3 separate regions of the Homo sapiens genome follow, and regions 1 and 2 are each linked to region 3. Evidence: promoter capture Hi-C in human tissues and cell types (Jung and others, 2019). All regions are on one chromosome and are shown on one strand. Each heading gives the region's core, a stretch centred on a gene start or on the middle of the fragment in contact. The rest is flanking DNA. Distances are from core to core; before and after follow the strand shown. Region 1 has its middle 34 kb from the start of LRRC3B-AS1. Region 2 overlaps LRRC3B (leucine rich repeat containing 3B). Region 3 holds the start of LRRC3B (leucine rich repeat containing 3B).

The links. Contacts are between HindIII fragments. The study calls those that stand out against the background at their distance.
Region 1: a fragment that was not itself captured here is called in contact with the fragment with the promoter of LRRC3B in region 3 in 2 of the 25 tissues and cell types used here (spleen and thymus).
Region 2: a fragment that was not itself captured here is called in contact with the fragment with the promoter of LRRC3B in region 3 in 2 of the 25 tissues and cell types used here (aorta and dorsolateral prefrontal cortex).

The regions. Positions count from the first base shown.
Region 1 is chr3:26,586,106-26,590,580 of GRCh38, reverse strand. No RefSeq gene overlaps it. Among named protein-coding and RNA genes, the nearest start is that of LRRC3B-AS1, 34 kb to the left of the region's middle. The HindIII fragment of the contact is 5,892 bases long and covers 1-4,475 here.
Region 2 is chr3:26,683,851-26,688,671 of GRCh38, reverse strand. All of the region lies in intron 1 of LRRC3B (leucine rich repeat containing 3B), which reads right to left. Among named protein-coding and RNA genes, the nearest start is that of LRRC3B, 63 kb to the right of the region's middle. RefSeq lists a silencer at 2,267-2,475. The HindIII fragment of the contact is 4,428 bases long and covers 1-4,314 here.
Region 3 is chr3:26,619,601-26,624,197 of GRCh38, reverse strand. It overlaps LRRC3B (leucine rich repeat containing 3B), which reads right to left and starts at 1,426. Exons shown (of 2, transcript NM_052953.4): 1 at 961-1,426. It overlaps LRRC3B-AS1 (LRRC3B antisense RNA 1), which reads left to right and starts at 1,435. Exons shown (of 4, transcript NR_183726.1): 1 at 1,435-1,597; 2 at 3,226-3,265; 3 at 4,350-4,496. RefSeq lists an enhancer at 1,577-2,092. The HindIII fragment of the contact is 7,905 bases long and covers 1-4,597 here.

The DNA.
Region 1 (4,475 bases), core at 823-3,322, 34 kb after region 3:
AGATTGGATACAATATGGTGAGGGTAGTTAACTACTCTCAGGACACCCCGGCCCCCACCTCTGCCATTTTTGATGAGAAGAGAAAGAGAGAGAGAGAGAAAGAGAGAGAGAATGTGTTTCCAGACTCCCCAAACACAGACTCGCCATCAGATTTAGTACTATTTTTCTCATAACATGGCAGGACATTATCAAGCTTGGGAACTGAGAAAACACGATGGGAGGAGAAAGGGAGAAATGAACCATAAATGTTGGAATTATTCCACAGCACCAACAAATGATAAACTCCTGCTGTTCCTCACATAGATCTGTAACCGCAATTGCACTTGTCCCTCTTAAAAATAGCAGTTGGAGTCTAGAATATTTCTAAGACAGTAGAGTGTCATCTTCATTTTTAAACATGAATAAGCTACACAGATGAAGCCTGTGGGGGCTAAAGCATTAGAGAGACACAGAACAGAGAAAGAGGCAGGGGCAAGATTTACCAGGACTTCCAGAAAAGGGTTGTTTATTCATTTATTCTTTCAACCAGCACTCAGGGAGCCTTTATTATGAGACAGCTACTAAGCATTTAGGAGGGTATAAAAAAATAAAAAGCACTGTCCCTACTTTCCAGAAATGGAACAGTATAGATTGATTCCCATAGATTTAATAGACAGATATAGCCTCAATCATTTATTCATTTATTCACTAAATATTGCTGTGTCAGGCATTTCGCTAGACAATGGTGTGGCAAAGATTAATAAAAATGTTATCTGTTCTTCAGGGCCCACAGTCTTGGGTAGGGGTGGGGGGATCAGGATTGAGGTGGATCCAGAAGGATAAGAGAAAAATAAAGAAGCAGCATCTAAATTAGTTTGGGGAAGAGGATGGGACAAGTGCTAGGGAAAGTGGTAGTGTATGTGAGTCTCAAGGAGAGAGTTTAAATCAGTATTTAAATTTGTATCTGTATAAATGACTTTCCAGCTGTCTGCCTATTTTATTAATGGGGCATGGCTCAGAGGTACGATTAGAGTTTGAGTCCCAGCTCGACTGCTTTTTAACTGTGCAATCTTGGGTAAGTTAGCTTCTTGATGCCTCAGTTTCCTCATTTGTAAAATGAGGATTACAATAGCAATACCCTTTATGATCACTATGAGAATTAAATGAGTTAGTCTCTTTAAAGTCCTTTAAAAGAAAGTACTTAGCACATAGTGAGTTCTATGTAAGTACTAGTTATCTACAGAGAGACTAACATTTTCCACTGGAATGTCTCCTAGACAACACCTCTCAGGTATGTTTCTGGGTCTTGGGAATTAAAATTAGGGCCTATGAACGGGAAAGTCTTAAGATGCTAGTTTTGAGAGTGCGCTAAGAAATGAGGTGAGGAATCTTTATGGCTTCCCACTGGGAAAATCCAGAGTTGCAACCTCTTTGGCAGGCAGTATTCTTTTTTTGGCAGGAATCAGGAATTCCAGATTCTTCACAGTATCAGGGGCCTTGAGGAGGAAGCAGCTGTACTAATAAATTCACAGATATTCTGGATTAACTGACTGCAACCTGGAAGAGCAGGAGCACATTGTTGAGTCTACAGTAGTTTTCTGTTGTGCAGAAAATGGCAAATAAAAACATGTACTTGCTTCAATCTTCATATCCTTATTATTTCTTCCCTTCCCCACTCAATCCTTTTGTAAGGCCTAGAGACTGAACCCACTGCAATCAGTGTATGGCATGTATCCAAGTAACTGCTCTGCAAAGTATGGAGTAGGAAATCTTATTTGTAGCAAAAGAAGTAAAACAAATTACTATAGTATTTTATCTACATTGTGGCATTATGATAAATGTATGTTATCATTCCATGTCATTTAGCTCCTAACCAGTCTCCCGAAGAGGATCTTATTATTATTCCTATTTTAAGATGAGTGAAGAAATATTCCGAGCAATTGATGGGTTTCTTAGTGTTATTATTAGTAATTGGAGGTACTGGTTTTGAGCCTGACTCTATGACTCTAAAGCAAGTGCTCGTAACTTCTGTGATATGGGGTATAAGAACTAAGGAGTTATAGAGTGTCAAAGGAGGAATAGAGGAGGAAACAGTGAGAACATCCCAAGAGAGGTGGTATTTGAGTTGAGTGTTAAAGATAGGCACAGTTTTTAGACATGGAACGGATAAGTCAGGTCGTTCTAGATGAAGAAATGTTAAAGGTCAGGAGGGCATGAGTGTCATGAGCCCCCTGGAAGAATATAAAAGTGTCTTGTGAGAGTAAAGCATGGGTGTTTGATAGAAGATAAAGCTGGATATGGACACATTCAAGGAAGGTCATCTGTTCCCTCAACCAAATGGAAATGCAAACCCATCTTTGAGGCAGAGGGAGGAAAGGGCTGAGGGAATGGCTCCGTGTTCTACACTGCATGATAAACAGTAGACATTATATCTCTACCAGCCTTTTGCCATGGTTGATGCTTAGTTTCTGCATCACTGTCTGAAGACAGGGGCACAGAACCCAGCTGCTGAGACTCTAGAGATTGCTAGTGCCCTAGCTGTTGAGATAGAACTTGTTAGCGGGAGACGAACAGCAGAAGAGAAATTAGGAAGGAGTTGAACCTTAGACCCGACTGATGGGTCACAAAGCAGAGAGGGTGCCTAGCCGTACCAGGAAGGATTTTTTTTCTGGCTCTCCGTGGCAGCACTGATGATGTCTCACAGCAATGCCAATCTGGACACAACCATTCCACAGAATGTTTTGCTGAACTGTGGTTCATGAAAACATCAAGCCTAGGATTTGTTGTAAGTGATCCTTTTCTTTTCCCACACCATTTTAGACTAGAAATAATCCCCAGCCAGCTGGTATGTCACTTTCAGAGGTAATGTGAATCCAAAACAACACAACTCTGACCTCTTCCTTATGGGAACACACATGGCATTATAGGAAAAGCATTGGTTTCGGGACTAGCAGTTCAGATTCAAGTCTCAGCTCTTAGAATTAAGCAGTTGTGCGATCTTGGACAAAATGTTTAGCTTCTCTGAACTTCAGTTTTCTTAACTGTAGACTAAGAAAGCATGCCTTACTTTATATGAAAAGGCCAGCTATCTCAGGGTGGATGTAAGCAGAAATTAGATAGTGCAAATGAAATGAAATAAAAACACACTGCTAGTCTAAAGCAGTGAGCATTTAGACTGCATGAGAAATAATTAAATTATTTTAAAGTATGAAGGAAATGTAATCTGCTTCTCCCATCCTGCCCCCTGCAGTATCCAGCAGCAATGTTCATAGGCACTAGTCAATGTCTTTGCTGTTGAGTCTCCCACAAGTATCACAGTTGCTTCCTGTCAGGGACTGGGACCATGTGCACTCAGAGACTGTGTCATCTCTGCCTCACAGGCACAAGGGAGAAGGGTTTTGGGCACTGCTGGCTGCAGTCACAGTCTCTGATGCCTTTGCATTCCTCTGTATAGTGGCAAATAGTCAAGATGGTGACATCCAGATGCATTTACATTTAAGTGTGCTTGAACCAACAGCACCTATCCAAAAAGTATCCTGCTCCCCTGCCTTCTCCCTTGGCATAGTTGGGTACTATCCATTTGTAGTTCTATGGCCTTGAGAAAGTTAATCTCTGTGCCTCAGTATTCTCATATCTGTGATATTAGCGTCACAGTCCTCCTTTCTAGTACTATTATTATGGAGATTACTTAGATATTATATATACGGAGAATGGCACATCATTCCTTTACAGGGGTTGCAGCCACACTAAACTAAATGCCCCATGGGAGCACGTTGAGAGGTGTGGGTGGATTTGACATATAGTAGACTAAGAATAAGTGAATCCAGAAAAGTCAACTCTCATAGCCAATGGGGCTGGGATGTCAGGAGATTTCTTGGAGGAACAACAAAAAAAAAACTGATACTCAAAGAATTGGAAGTTACAGGTAGGTGAGGAGGAGGGAAGGACTCTAGGCATTCACTCTAGCATGTGTCACTCAGCACAGTGACATGATACAGTGAGAGGACAAGGTGGTCATCAATGTCACCAGATGGAGAAGTGGGAACGTATGCTGAAGTCCTCAAATGCCATGTTAAGTAGCACAGACTGTAACCCCTAAAGTTAGGGCTTTCCAAACTTCAGCCACTCAGTATCAGCTTCACAATTTTTGCCATATCTGAGTATTGCAGTATCTCTTCTTTAACCATTTACTTAATATGGTCTTTAAATGGACTCACCTTCTTTTAAACTAAATAAGCTTACTTTATAAGGAAATTCTATTACCATTGTAAATAATAACCCATACCATTTGTCATAAACATAAGAAAATGAAACCCATAAAGTAAAACCAAACTATATTATTACACTCTTACTAGATACTTTTGCCTAATGACAACTCTGAGCCCAAGCCTACTATCTCTTGGCTTAAAAAGGGAAATGAGCAGGTTTTTGAGGAGTATGACAGCCATAAAGCACTCCTACAGTGAAGCTTTCCCTTAGAAGGATGGAGAGGGATC
Region 2 (4,821 bases), core at 851-3,350, 64 kb before region 3:
GTTCTCATGATGATGAGTTCTCATGAGATCTGGTTGTTGAAAAGTGTGTGGCATCTCCCTCTCCTTCTTCCTGCTCTGGCCATGTAAGATATGCCTGATTCCCCTTTGCTTTGTGCCATGATTGAAAGTTTCCTGAGGCCTCCCCAGAAGCTGAGCAGATGCCAGCATCATGCTTCCTGTACAGCCTAAAGAACCATGAGCAAATTAAACTTCTTTTCGTTATAAATGACCCAGTCTCAGGTATTTTTTATAGAAATCTAGGAATAGGCTAATACAGATGGGAACAGTCATTATTTTTTATTGGTGCTGGCAAATATTCCCTGACCAAGTCGAACTTTCAACCTTGGCACAAAGCAGTAGCAAATATTATTCTTTCTGCGGTTCTTTATTTAAAATGTGTGCCTGCTCTTCTCTGTAAGGGAACATTCTTTTCTGCTGACCAGAAAAATATGGATGCCTAGATATTTAGAAAGAGCTGTGGATGTATTTTAATTATTTTTTACTCAACGTAATTCATGGGTTCACATCTGGATATATCTTTATAGGTTCGTCCCTTTTCTATTAATCTGTTATTATAAAACTTCCATGTTATGTCCTCCCATGTGCACCAGGGATACCTGAGCCTCCTTCTGATGTAACCAAGATGGAAGCTTCAATGAGGTGTCTTTATGTCACCAAAGCAAGGAGGAATCTGACAAAAGTCTTCCCAGAGGCTACTTGTGAAGCATCTCCTTGTTTGGTGGTTCTGTCCAGTGGCTGCTGTGGGATGAGATAAAGCTGCAGGAGGCAGAGGAGCCAAGGCTAATTCTTATTCAAACTATGGATTATCTCAACCCTTGATACTCTTCCCATTCCATCTGTCTCCTCAGTCCTGGGTCATTTTCATTGCTCATTATCACCAGCACCAGAGGGAAGACAGAGGAAATGAAGGAAGTTGAAATTCAAATGAATCGATTCTACCACTTGTTAGCAGCTCAGCTCACAAGTACACAAAGGGAGGAGGCTGCAGCTCTTCTGTGGGTTTCAATTCTCCTTGCTATTCTTGTACCCCATGCTGCCAGGCAATATTGAGTGGGCTGTATGGAAACGATCTCTGGGATGAAAAAAGAAGTGGGGGTAGCTCCCTCTAACAGTAGCTTCTTCAAAGAAAAGAAAAAGCAATTATATGCTCAGCGGCAGCGTGCCACACAGAGAAGCCCAAATTTTATTAAACAAACTCATATTTGGAAGCATATTATCCCCTCAGAACTAGAGAGAAAGGAATGCTTAGAACATATTTAGAGCAATTATAATGCAGAGGATACACTGATTGTCATAGCAGCAAAAATTTTAAATAAAGAGGACATTTCCTTAAAAGATTATGCCAAGGACATCAAAAGCAGAAGCAAGCAAAGGCTGTATCAAAATCCTAAAGGATAATGAAAAGGAAGAAAAATACATTAGGACCTTTAAAACCACTGTTTCCAACACATGTAGAATGGCAGGGAGAGAATAGAACCCTGGAACCAATGGAATTGTCTTTTTCTCCCTGCACTTATAAGAAAGGGTTGGACTACAGTCACCAATGCCCTGTCCTGTTCTCAGTGGTGGACATTGTGAGGCACCACCTAGATGACCCTGCAACAAAGGGTTTGCCCCAGCTTCTGGGAGTGTTGGCAGCAGAGAGCTTTCAATTAGTGACCCATTCGGGGATTGTCTCTGTGGCAGAGAGACACTTTGCCTTCCAGAAACAGCCCACATCCAATGACTGACCAGTGGGGGAGGATGAAGGTCTAGCTCCCTCAGCCTAATATGGGACAACTCTGAAGGACCAGTCTAGATCCAGAGCTGGCTGAGAGGTTGGCTGAGGCTGTGGTTGGTTCTGCATCACAGCTTATCTTCTCCTTCTTGCCATTCCTTCCCACCCCATTCACAAATGTTGATCCCAAGGGTACTCCTTAATAAACCTCTTGCATGCCAAATCCCATCTCAGAGTCTTCTTCCCTAGAATCTCAACATGCAACAGTTAATAGTCACTAATCTTTGCACACTCTGGCTTTTTTTATTTTCTTAACACTTTTTTTCTGAGCTGAATATTTACTTTTTTCAATGAGGTTGGTATATACTCCAAGAAGTTATGTAACACATCAAAGAAGAAATGCAGGTTGGTTGGTGGGGGATGCAGGAGAGAAAAAGGCTATGAATGATCCAAATGGAAATTGGATAAAAAGATTGGGCTTCAAATTAGATATATAAAGAAGCAGTGTTGAAGTTACCATAAGGAGCATGGAAAATTAAGAAATAACCATTTACCGGCCGGGCGCGGTGGCTCACGCCTGTAATCCCAGCACTTTGGGAGGCCAAGGCAGGCGGATCACGAGGCCAGGAGATCGAGACAATCCTGGCTAACATGGAGAAACCCCATCTTTACTAAAAATACAAAAAATTAGCCGGGCGTGGTGGCGGGCACCTGTAGTCCCAGCTACTTGGGAGGCTGAGGCAGGAGAATGGCGTGAACCCGGGAGGCGGAGCTTGCAGTGAGCCACAATTGCACCACTGCACTCCCGCCTGGGTGACAGAGTGAGACTCCATCTCGAAAAAAAAAAGAAAGGAAAATAAATAACCATTTACCTAGGCAAAGCAAGGGGTATAGTCTATATGAATCCTATACCACGGCCGAGTCTATTAATGAACAAGTAACTTTTTTTAACTAAGCCTAAGAACTTGGTATTTCCTATCTGAGGTAGCTACTGCCAATAGAATCTTAGAGAATGTTTGCCACCAGAAAAAGATGTCATAACTGAGAGACTGGACTAAGCTATTGATGGAGCATATCTGGGCATGTGCCCCCACTGAACCACTAAATGACATTAGACACAGTATTTAAACCCCAAGTCTGAAAGGAGGAAAGCAGGCAACTTGCTCAGTGAATAGAGATTCATGAAACTAAGATCTTTCTGAATTATTGTATATGAAATTTCCATCAACTGCACTGCCTAAGTAAATTAAGGTATAGTCATAAAATAGTAATAGTAGTTTTTAAAAATGAGGTATATAGATATATATATATATATATACACACACACATATATATATATGAGTGAAGCTTGTATATATTTGAAGAATATATGTGAATATATATATATATATATATATATATATATATATAGAGAGAGAGAGAGAGAGAGAGAGAGAGAGAGAGAGAGGGAGAGAGTCTACCATATCTTAGTTGGGTATCCTCCTTCCACAAACTAAGATTCAGAGAAATGTAATGACTGGTCCTTGGTCACATACTAGTAAGATAGGTAGCATTTTGACAAGCAGAGACTGAAGGGAGGTGATCATTTTAGAAAACAAGAAAGTCAAGTAAAATCAAGAAGGCAAAAATAAATGAACAAACATGAAACCCGCCAAAAAACAACAACAATAACCCCCATGTGGGCCAGGCACAGTACCTCATGCCTGCAATCCCAGCATTTTGAGAGGCCAAGGTGGGTGGATCACCTGAGGTCGGGAGTTCGAGACCAGCCTGACCAACTTGTTGAAACCCCATCTCTACTAGAAATACAAAATTAGCTGGGTGTGGTGGCACACGCCCATAATCCCAGCTACGCAGGAGGCTCAGGCAGGAGAATTGGTTGAAGCCTGGAGGTGGAGATTGCAGTGAGCTGAGATCGCACCACTGCACTCCAGCCTGGGCAACAAGAGCAAAACTCCATTTAAAATAAAATAAAATAAAATAAAATAAAATAAAGAAACCTGTGTTTGAGTGACTGCAAGCACTCCATTGTATGTGAGAATGGAGTAACAGAGATCTGCTACTGGTGAACTCAGGGATCTGAATGAATAATGAGTTCCACTCTGAACATATTACATATGTTTATTGAAAGTCAGTGCTATGGTTTCAATGTTTGTCCCCTCCAAAACACGTGTTGACATTTAACTGCTATCCACAGTATTAAGAGGTGATACCTTTGAGAGGTGATTAGGCTATGAGGGCTTTGCCCTCCTGGGTGGATTAATGCCATTAAAAAAGGACAAGTTTGGCCCCCTTTTAGTCTCTTTGCCCTTCTGCCTTCTGCCATGTGGTGGTGCAGCAAGAGGGCCCTTGCAAGATGCCAGCACCTAGATCTTGGACTTCTCAGTATCCAGAACTGTGAGAAAATAAGCTTCTGTTCATTATAAGTTGCCCAGTCTCGGGTGTTCTGTCATAATGCACAAAATGGACTAAGGCAGTCAGTAAGAGAGCTGAAGTAAAGAACCAGAAATTGTCAGAAAGGAGATAGAAAAGAGTAAGCACAGATGCAGCACATATCATGGTCAAGGCAAGGATAGTATCATAATTTTCCAACCAACTTGCCCATTTCTGAATATCGCATAGTCCTTTAAAAGCCATATAGATTGAGGCTGACTTAATTTCAGTGGGAACCAGTGGGATTGACAGTTACATACAATCTACTTTCACCCCTGGTTCCTTGGATACTATCAGAAAGCACAAAGCTTTGTGAAAGCACAGAGAGGGCTGGAACTTTCCCAACTTTGTTTTTAAAAAACGTGGAGAATAAAGATTCCAAGGAATTGTTCATCCAACCGTGATCCTGACTGAATAACAACTTGAGCAAATCATCTAAATTGGCTGATTCACCAGGAGAAACGGGACAAGTCCACAGCAGACAATTCAGCCAGAAGGACCCTGAGAAAATATTGAGAGAAACAAGTCCTGTGGACAGAGGATCAGCTTTTCTCACACATCAATATGACTTATGCTCAAAAAGGAACCCAAAGAGCTGGCGCCAAGATTTGTCTGACAAAGTGCTATAAAGTAAGAACAGAGATTTATTC
Region 3 (4,597 bases), core at 177-2,676:
TGCTTCTGGGGAGGAAGATCGCCCCATCCCAGGCACTCAGCAGCCTGCCTTCCCAAGTACCCAAGGGCCCGGCATTCCGGGGCTCCATTCCTTGTCTCCACGCGCCCCCAGGTACCCAGCCCCTCCCCCATCTGTATTTACATACCCAGGCCAGCGCCCTCCGGACTCAAATCCCTTTTCCTCTTCGTCAGATGGCCTCTCAGGGCTGGCCGCTCGCCCACATTAGCAGTACCTTTTCATTTCCCTCAACCGTGGGCAGATCTACCCGACCCTCAGCTTCCTCCTCCACCGCACGAGCAGCCTTTCCCTCCCTGAGCCACTTACTTCACCCACCCATATCTGCACTTGCAGTTCCCACGGCGCACAGCCGCAAGCCACTCCAAAGGTTTCATTGCCGAGTTGGGGGTGGCGTGTGCAAGGATGGACTGACTCCCATCGCGCTGGACGAAGCTTCAGGGGTGGCCGCAGCCATCCTCCATGTCCCACCTCTCTTATTTCACCTTCTCTGTCCCTACCCAGCTCCTAGAGGCAGGACGAGCACTGCTGGGTCCCAAACCCTCGCCTCAGGAGCCAGAGCTGCGGGGAGTGAAAAGTCGACTGGCAAGAACACACAGAGAGAAATGGGCAGATGCATATGGCAAGAGGGGCTGGGGGAAGGGCAAGAACTAAACCTGCAAGTTGCACAGCACGGGGTGAGCACCGCGCAGGGAAGGGGTCACAAAAGTTTGCAGACTATTGTATAGCAGCCGGCTGAACAGGAGCGAAGAGGGTCGACTCTCTCTCTCCAGGAGGAGGTCTCTCCCAGGGTCTGCGCAAAAGGGATCAGGGAGGCTTAGACAGGCACGGCTTAGAACTGGTGTAATAGTTCTCCTCTACTTGTTCCTTGGAGGGACGGCCTAGGTACCCGGGCAGAGGGATGATCCCGCGCTCTGCGAAAAGCAACAGGCGGCTGCACCTTACCTTGCGCCAGTCCCGGGCCGGGGTGGCTGCTCCATCCTCGTGGCTCAGGGAGGAGGCGTTGGGTGCGTATGCTTAGGGGTGTGCCCGCTGCCAGGGCTGCAGCGGCCGCCACCTCCAACCAGCTGCAAGCCGAGCTGCCCACCTGGGACCGGGCCGGCCCGGCGGGCTTGGCTCCCGGCGAAGGCGGCGGCGTTGGTGCGCGGCGGCTGGGGCGCGGGACGCAGGCAGTGCGTGGCGCGGCTGGCGTCTTCGGGCGCCGCCACCGAGCGAGGGTGCGGCCCCGGGCGGCCGTGCGGGGCACGACTTGGCTCGCGTTGCTGCGGCGGCCGCTGCAGACCCTGCTCCAGGCGCCGTAGCCTTGCAGGAAGAGCAGACAAAGACAGGAGAGAGGCAAAGCGCCGCTTGCCCAGAGATGCAGTCGGCTCAGTCAATAGAGGGAAATCGCCTCCAAACCCAGGCTGGGAATGAGGGAGGAGGGGCGAGGCGGCTGGGGACTAGAAAAAGCAGCAGGGAATTAACGTGACAGTCAGAGCCCAGCCAGTGCCTCGCCGGCGCTGCTCTCTCGCCTCGCGGTTGCGGGGTCCGGAATGGAGAGAGGAGGCGGGGGCTGAGCGTTGGCTGCCGGAGACCAGCTGAGGTAGGAGTATTAACTCCCTCTGCTGCTCTCGCCTGCCTTCCTCGCACCCCCTTACACAGCTCTACTTGCAGCAGGCTATGGCCCCATTCTTTCTCCTATTTTTCTAACTACTGAGATCAGAGCTGAATTAAGCTGGTGAAAGGAGCAAAACGTGCAAGGGATTGATTGCCCTCCTTGGGGGAAAAGCGGAGGCTTAAAATCAATTCGACAAATGAGTGTTTACTGGGTGCTGAGTACTGTGCTCCGCTATTGTGAGGGAGGGTTATGAATAAGGTACCCCCCTCCCGCCCCAGGGTCCGTTGTCTGATCTCAGAATCAGTTTCCCCTGCAGTTCTGGAAGCCCAAAGTTTCGGGGTTGAGTTGTGGTCCCTGATCCCGATCCTCAACCAATCTAGCTTTCTAAATCAGAAGAAGGTGGAATTCAATTTTCCTTTCTCCTTCCTGGGATGACTTTAACCTGCAGCCGAAATGGAGTCTATAGGCCCCTTAAAAAAGCGCGCGCACGCCAGTGTGTGTGTGTGCGAGCGCGCTCGCGTGCGCGCGTGTGTTTTAAGAGTAAGTCAAATTAATGGTTTTAGTGATGTTCTTATTTCATGATTTTAATTATTTACCATATCTGCAGTAGACACCAGTTTGGGGCAGAGGAACCCGCCTCTCCAGACTCTACAAATACCACCTTTTTTTCTAAAGCTTTTTTCCGCTACCCCAGTCCTCTGACTCGAGGCAGAAATCTTTCCCCTCTCTTTGCCCTCTCAGAATTTTATTTGCCAATCACTTGCGGAACTTATATATTTATAGATTTATCTCTTCACTCACATATGAGTATTCCCTGTGCTTTTTGTTTGTTTGTTCTCACTGCAACATCCAGCAGTGTTTTGTATCTAATGGGTACTCAAGGAAAGCTTATCCAGTTGAAGGTCATTTTCTCCTTCTGTATGAGCTAAATCTCAGTGTCTCTAGAATTAAAGAGACTCCAGGGATGGAACTTTTGATTTAGGGTGTGGTGGAGGGAACCACACATACAGTTAGACTCACAGCCCCTTTACTGGAAAGGTAATAAAGTATTTAATTCATTTTGGTCTCTAGACAATCAACCTTCTCCCACTGACCACCCACCTCTGTTTCCTGAATTCCCAAAAGCAAAAGAAAACCAAACTGCTAAGCAACTGCCTAGAGCAAGACATGTATGTTCAGCTGCCAACACCTAGAGCAAACCCATTCCAAGTGGAGAATGACCAAAAAATCTTGATTATTTCTTGACCTGTGTCAAGTATGTTGAAAGCCTGCCAAAGTTTCCTCATTTCTATTGAAGCACTCTTATTCTGGATGCATTTTAGAACAGTTTGAACAGTGTTACATTGCTCAGAGGTGAAGAAAATTGCTTTGTAGTTTAAGGATATTTAAGATTTGTTTGTTTGTTTGTTTGTTTTCTGTCCCACCTTCTACAAATTGCACGATAGATACCTCAGATCAGGAATGCTGCATGAAAAAGTATGTCCATAATGCAGGAGATTAGACTAAATGACTCTTAAGATATCTTCTGTCTCTTAGACGTTATGATACTGTGATTTAAAAGATTGCGGTTTAAAGTTTTTTTTTTTTTTAATTTTTGTTTTTGTTTTTTAAAGGAGATTTTAGAACACAAACATAGATACATGTGGATAGCAGGTATGTAATTTGGTGTCGTTTTTCTGAAGGGAAATTTGGCATGCTATTGAAAGCATAACATTTTTGCATTTCATTTTTCCAGTGACTCTAATTCTTCAAATTCATCCTCAGGAAATAACTAAGGTTGAGCAACAAGATTTATCTACCTGGATATTCATTGTAGTGTTGTTTATATTAGTGAAAAATTGAAAAGAAACAAAACTAAACTCAAATGTCTACCAAGAGAGGAATGGTAAAATATTTTGTAAATCTATACAATGGAATATCAGTCAGACACTAAAATGTTGTAGGTGAATATTATCATGATTTATGGTTGTAATATAATTTTAGTCAAAAATTTCAGATGCACAAAGTGAGAAGTAGAATAGTAAAAAATAAAATCTGGAGTTGACAAATCTGGGTTTGAAACCAGGCATTTCTACTTGCTGACTATGTGATTATGGACCTGAACCTCCAATACATCGACTGTATAATTGGGTTGATGTTATTTACATTGTAGTATTGTTGCGATTAAGTGAAATAGCATTTATGAAGCCCTTAGCATGGTGCCTAATGCATAGTAAAATCTCAATATATTAAATAGATTTATTTGGCAAACAAATGTATAAACATGAGTTTAAGGTATGATATATTTTCTGGTAAAAATATATACATATATAGACTCATTTCTACAGTAAGATATACTTCAATATTACCAGTGGCTATCTCTGTTGGCACTGGGATTTGGGGTGTCTTAAAAAAATTCTGTAGTAATCATAAAGTAAAATTATATAGTAAATAACAGCGGAATTTGTTTTTAATTTAATTGTCTTTTAATTAAAATACGACTAACTATGGACATAGGAAACCTCTAGATTTGGAAGTTTTCTGTTTTTGTTGATTCATCAACAAGTCATCAACATTACTTGTTGACTGTTGGTGTCACCCATGCTATAAAAAGGATAAATGACAGGGCATGGAGTTTGTCACCTCTGATATAAACTTAGATTTGTTTTGTAGCAACCAGAAGTCAAGTCCAGCTCAGCAAAATATGCTGTTTAATATAAAGAGCTGATTCGTTGCTACCCTTGCCTTCTCTTGACAGCCAATACAGAGAGAGGGAGAGAGAAAAAGGAGGGATCAGAAGCTATATTTGTAACTTTTGATTAGTGAACTACAGAAGGAAGCCTAACACTGCAGGACCATGACCTTCACATCTACTTTAGTGGCCCCTCTGGGTCAGAGATGGATGGTTTGTACAAGTTTTCTATGTATATTAAAAATGTTATAGAAATACAGGGGGGAATATGATTTATGGTGTTTTCAGTTTAACTTTCTTTAGAAATAGGGGCA